Linked DNA regions of Homo sapiens: region 2 is linked to region 1. The links are contacts of gene promoters, found by promoter capture Hi-C in blood cells and fetal thymus (Javierre and others, 2016). All regions are on one chromosome and are shown on one strand. The core of a region is centred on a gene start or on the middle of the fragment in contact, and the rest is flanking DNA. Distances in the headings are between cores, read along the strand shown. Region 1 holds the start of PGK2 (phosphoglycerate kinase 2). Region 2 overlaps CRISP3 (cysteine rich secretory protein 3).

The links. The method cuts DNA at HindIII sites, captures the fragments that hold promoters and counts their contacts. A CHiCAGO score of 5 or more calls a contact.
Region 2: a fragment that was not itself captured here is called in contact with the fragment with the promoter of PGK2 in region 1 in 2 of 17 cell types (erythroblasts and megakaryocytes); the score reaches 11.5 in erythroblasts.

What each region holds. Positions count from the first base shown.
Region 1 is chr6:49,785,892-49,788,826 of GRCh38, forward strand. PGK2 (phosphoglycerate kinase 2) reads right to left here and starts at 1,394. Exons shown (of 1, transcript NM_138733.5): 1 at 1-1,394. The coding sequence starts at 1,296. The coding sequence ends at 43. The HindIII fragment of the contact is 4,736 bases long and covers 1-2,935 here.
Region 2 is chr6:49,729,821-49,732,660 of GRCh38, forward strand. It overlaps CRISP3 (cysteine rich secretory protein 3), which reads right to left. Exons shown (of 8, transcript NM_006061.4): 7 at 1,343-1,431. Among named protein-coding and RNA genes, the nearest start is that of CRISP3, 13 kb to the right of the region's middle. The HindIII fragment of the contact is 2,883 bases long and covers 142-2,840 here.

The DNA of each region.
Region 1 (2,935 bases), core at 144-2,643:
AGGGCCATGGACAGAAAACAGAAGGAAGTAACACTATATTAACTACATGTTGCTGAGGGCCTCTACTCCAGGAAGGATTTTACCTTCCAGAAGCTCTAGACTGGCACCGCCTCCAGTGCTGACATGGCTGACTTTATCTTCAGTGTTCCATTTGGCACAGCAAGTAGCAGTGTCTCCACCCCCTATAACAGTGATGCAGCCCTTGGAAGTGGCTTTCACAATTTCATCCATGAGGGCTTTGGTTCCCTTAGCAAAGGCATCCCATTCAAATACTCCTAACGGCCCATTCCAAACAATTAGCCTTGCTTGAGCCACAACTTGAGCATGATTCTTGTTGCTCTCAGGACCACAGTCCAAACCCATCCAGCCAGGAGATATGCCAGATGCTACAGTGGCTTTTCCAACCTGAGCGTTCTCGTCAAACTTGTCCCCAGTAACAAAATCAACAGGAAAAGTAATCCTTACACCATTCTTTTGTGCTTTGGCCATGATATCTTTAACGATCTTGGCTCCCTCTTCATCAAACAGGGAAGCACCAATCTCCATGTTGTTGAGTACCTTAAGGAAGGTATAAGCCATTCCACCACCAATAATCATCTCATTGACTTTGTCCAGCATATTTTTGATAAGTTGGATCTTGTCTGCCACTTTGGCTCCACCAAGTATAGCCAGAAAGGGTCTCACTGGGTTTTCCAAGGCTTTAGCAAAGTAATCTAGTTCCTTCTTCATCAAGAATCCGGATGCTTTATGGGGCAGATTCACTCCCACCATGGAACTATGAGCGCGGTGTGCAGTGCCAAAAGCATCATTGACATAGACGTCCCCTAGCTTGGAAAGTGATGCTCGGAAGGCTTCTATTTTATCTGGCTCAGCTTTAATCTTCTTTCCAGAGGGATCTTGGCCCTTCCCTTCTTCCTCCACATGAAAGCGCAGGTTCTCCAGCAGGATGACTGAACCAGGAGCTGGGTTGGCACAGGCTTTCTCCACTTCTGCGCCTACACAGTCCTTCAGGAACAGAACATCCTTGCCCAGCAAGGATTTGAGCTCAACAGCAACAGGTGCTAAGGAATATTTGTCAGGCATGGGAACACCATCAGGCCGACCTAGATGACTCATAAGAACTACTGCCTTGGCTCCATTGTCCAGGCAGTACTTGATGCTTGGGATGGAAGCCTTGATCCTCTGGTTGTTTGTAATCTGGTTCTTCTTCATGGGAACATTGAAGTCTACTCTCATGATGACTCGCTTCCCTCTAACATCCAGTTTGTCTAAAGTCAACTTCTTAGAAAGAGACATCTTGACAATATAAAGACATAGGCTGACACCTGGATCTTAATGCTGAAGAACCAACTTGCTGTTGAGGGGCTGGGTCGGTGGTGACTTCTAACGCCTTTGCCCTTGTCCCGCCCCTTTCTTCTCCTCACTGTCTCCAGCACAACGGCCACTGTTAGACTGGAAAGCAAATCTAGCTTTGTGATTGGCTCATGGTCCTGTCAATCTCGATCTGAACTGTGTTGCTAGGTGAAGATTCCAACTTCCTGGGCAGAGGGTCATGTAGTGGAATAGAGCTGTACCTGGCTTCAGGCGAGACTTGGGTAGGTGAAGAAACCCCAGAATAAGAATGGTTCTAAAAAAACAAGAATAGTCCTGAGGTGTGCGCCGCCTTCTGGCTCTTTTTGCCCCCACCCCACAGCTCGGTTAACAGTTGCTTTTATTATTAAAAACAAAACAAAAAGAACTCCACCCCCACCCCCGCAAACCTACATACACCTCATTCATGTCAAATCTTAACCATTTTGATATGTAAAAACCTCTGCAGTGCCAAATAAAAGGAATATTTGAAATAATGATTTTCATATGAAACCTTGCTTATTCAAGTCAGGATAGTATAGTTCTGTTTTTTCCTTGTCTTGATAAATATTTCTTTGAGGATGTGGCTTGTTGTTAGTCTTCATCTTTAGATCTATTCTGGGACGTGGTGGGAATGCTGTCATATTTTCATTACTTTGCTTCTTCCATTTTCAGACTACCATGAAAGAATGTTTGGTCACTTCTGCAGGAGAATCCCATAAGATCATAGCAAAGAGAGTATCAGTAACAAGTGCTGAAAGTAATGGTGACATTTCTTTCAGACTACAATGTTATGATGAGGCTCCTTATTTTTTGTCTCCTCTCTGTTTGCTTTCCTACCTGTACAACTTAGAAATTGAGCTGAAAAATAAATGCATGGTTTTCATGAAGATGAAAACATATATTAGAATTGAAAGTGAGTAAGATATTCTATTTTTGGAGAAAGCAAATGTATGTGGCTAGTTGGTTTAGTAATGAAAATTGGCTTTACAGTTTTTTTCATTCTACTCCATAAGTTGAGTGAACTAAATATGTAAAATGAAGGCTTTGACAGAAATATATTTGAGGCATCTCCTATTAAGATGGCTAAAATAAAAAATAAAAACAAGTGTTGAGAAAGAAGTGGACAAATTGGAATCCTCATTTATTGCTGATAGGAATGTCTAATGGTGCAGCCACTTTAAAAAACAGTTTATCGGTTCCTCAATGTTGAACATCGAGTCAACAGCATTTAAAAGCAAACTTAAATGGTGTTAAAATATATAGTAACAGAAACTCTCATTTGTTGCTCCCAGGAATGAAATATGCTACAGACATTTTGGGAAACAGCTTGGCAATTTCTTAGAAATATGCATAGACTTACCATACAAGTCATCAATCCTATTTCTAGATATTCATCCAAGGACATCAAAAACCTGTATTCTCTCAAACTTCTGTAAACAAACGTTTAGAGCAGTTTTATTAATAATTACCAAAATTGTATATTCTTCAAGTAATAAATAAATAAACTGTGATATATCCATGCAATGGAATATTATTTTTTAAAAAAAGAAAAGAAACAAGCTATTTACTTACACAAAAGCCC
Region 2 (2,840 bases), core at 333-2,832, 56 kb before region 1:
CAACAGTCTCCTAGCTGACTTTCATCCAATTGCTTCTTCCTACTACTGTCGGGAGCTCTTTAGAAAACACAGTTCAGATCTTATCATTCTTCTGTTTAAAATCTTTCAGTTGGCTGATTATTACTAATAAGATAAATTTCAAGCTTCTTAGAAAACAGCATTTGGCAGTGCTGGAAATATTTGGATTTTCCTTCTTTAGTTGATTTATAGCTTTGGTATTATCAGTATTCTGAATTATAGCTACACAATTCAGTCAGAAAAAAAATGTTACAATTCAGTCAGGTGAATGCATTTGAAAGGTAAAAATCTCAATGAATGGGTCAACTGCATTGTCAGTAATAATTTTAGTAACATATCCTAGTTAAACAAAAATATCATCTCTTTGTACTTTTATTTATAAAAGCACAAAATGAAATTGTATGAGATATAAATTTATTTACTCCTTTTTGCTAAAATATTTTTGAGGCTTCTGCAAACTAATACTACATACAGATTTGATTTTGACTTTAAAAATGTATACAAAATTATTAGCAAGCAGAAGTGCAAGTGATTATTATACTAAACTTGATGATTGTAACTACACTATGGCAAAAATGAGGAAGTTAGTATGATAAGTTCATTAGCATATGAGGAATTGCAGTATTTGGAGTCCCTGTCTGGATTGAGCCATATTCTATGGTCTCATACTCTTAGATGTATATTTGTTTTCCTTTTTTAAAATAATGCTGTATTTTGTATAATGATATAAACTTTGATGAGAATAAACTTCCTATTTAATTACAATGTTATTTCCACAGACACATTTTCATATATGCCAATATGTAACATGGATGGTAAGTGTTTCAACAGGTTACATATGATAACAGGCCAAATTTTACATTGCAAATGATACATAGATACTGAACAGTGTAAAATTTTCACTTAAAAATGCTCTGTAAGGCTGGGTGTGATGGCTCACACCTGTAATCCCAGCACTTCGGGTGGCTGAGGTGGGCAGATCGCTTGATGGCCAGAAGTTCGAGACCAGTGTGGCCAACATGGCAAAATCCTGTCTCTACAAAAAGTACAAAAATTAATCAGGTGTGGTGGCACGTGCCTGTAGTCCCAGCTACTCAGGAGGCTGAGGCACAAGAATCACTTGATCCCTGCAAGCGGAGGTTGCAGTGAGCCGAGATGGCACCACTGCACTCCAGCCTGGGCGACAGAGCCAGACAGACTTTTTTTTCCTTTTTGTCCTTTGCATGAAGGCATTGCTTAAGTTGGTTGTCTTCAGATTTCCCAATTCTTAGAAGAAATGTCAGATCATTTTATTTTATTATCAAGTTAATCACTTCAAACTTACTGCATAGTCCATCGTCACAGTTATCTGGGCAACTGGCACAAGGTGCTCCTTGTTCATAAGGGACATATAGTCTATTAGCCCAATTACCACTGAAATTTGAAATAAAAATGTCAAATATTTTTCATTTTTATGTTTCGTTTATGTTCCAAGGTTAGTATCAGTCACCAAATATACATGAGTATTTATTAAATGTTTTTAATTATGTCAAATAATTAAAAATATAATCTCAGAGTATATTCAGACAATAATGCAAATTAAGAGAATAATTCACACATTCATTCACTTTCCTGACCATAATCTTGCAACCTGAGAAACTGAAATAGGATAATTAAAGTCTAAAGTTTTTAAAGTATATTTCAATGTGGCAACACACTTCATCTCCCAACAGACTTCGTCAAATTGCTAAGATGATGTACCACAAGGTGCTGGCAAGGGGTAAAACATATCCCCTAGAGAGATAAGAAAAGTTCCTGAAGCACAGAAGGTTGCAATATGAAAAATAACATTTAATGTTAAATGTAACTTATAATTAAAAATAAAAAAAAACCATAATTTCTACAATATGAGGTAGGGTAAGTACAGTTTCAGCGTAAATTTTGGCTTCTAGGTGGAGTGGTGATTTTCACATGGTTTTTGCTGTATGTTTGTGAAAGGGTATTGGGCTTGGAAAGGTTTGGGAATGTCTACAGGTGGTGTGTATGAGATGTTTATGTTTGCCAAGAATGGGAATGTTAGGGAAAAAAAGATTTAATTAATACTAATCTCCTCTGTGTGTTCATCTTACAGTGACTAGCCTGTACATCATTGATGATTATTTTCCTATCGGTAATTATCATCTGAAAATACAAGAAAGTCAAAGTCTTAATTGCACTAAGTAGGCTAACGGTCCAAGGCTATGTAGCTGAATCTCAGCCTTTCTTCACAGAATATAGCTGTTGGTGTGTGAGCACTTAAGAAAATGTGAAATAGATATCAAAGTGTTCTGGAAGTTCTCTTTTCCCTGTTTTCTCTCATTACTAATTCCAACTCTCACTTCAGATGCTGACTCCAGATGCTCTCCTCTAATGACCAGGCATTTGGAGGCAGTCTCCCAGGGTCTTTCAATTTTCTGTATTAACAATGATAATTCTTTGCTGAAAAATGACCTTACAGGTCATATTTCTCAGACTGGAATCCTACATCACCTGGGATATCTACAGCCTCAAAATAAGCCATGCAGAAAGCTGAGTTTGGGGAAAACCCCTCCCACTAGTGGTGAACAACTTCAAATATTAAAAGGAAATTAAAGCTAATAGATATGTTGTGAATATATCTTCAATATATCCACAGATTTTTTTTCGTGAGTAGGTCAACTATATTGCTTGAGAAAAAAAAGTGGACTTTCTGCAGAAAACCCGAGATAATTAAGAAATTAGGATCTTAATGGAAGGTTCCATGAAATTTTTTTTGTGGTAAATTCTAAGAAGCAAAAATTTAAGACATTATCTTTTCTTGGCTA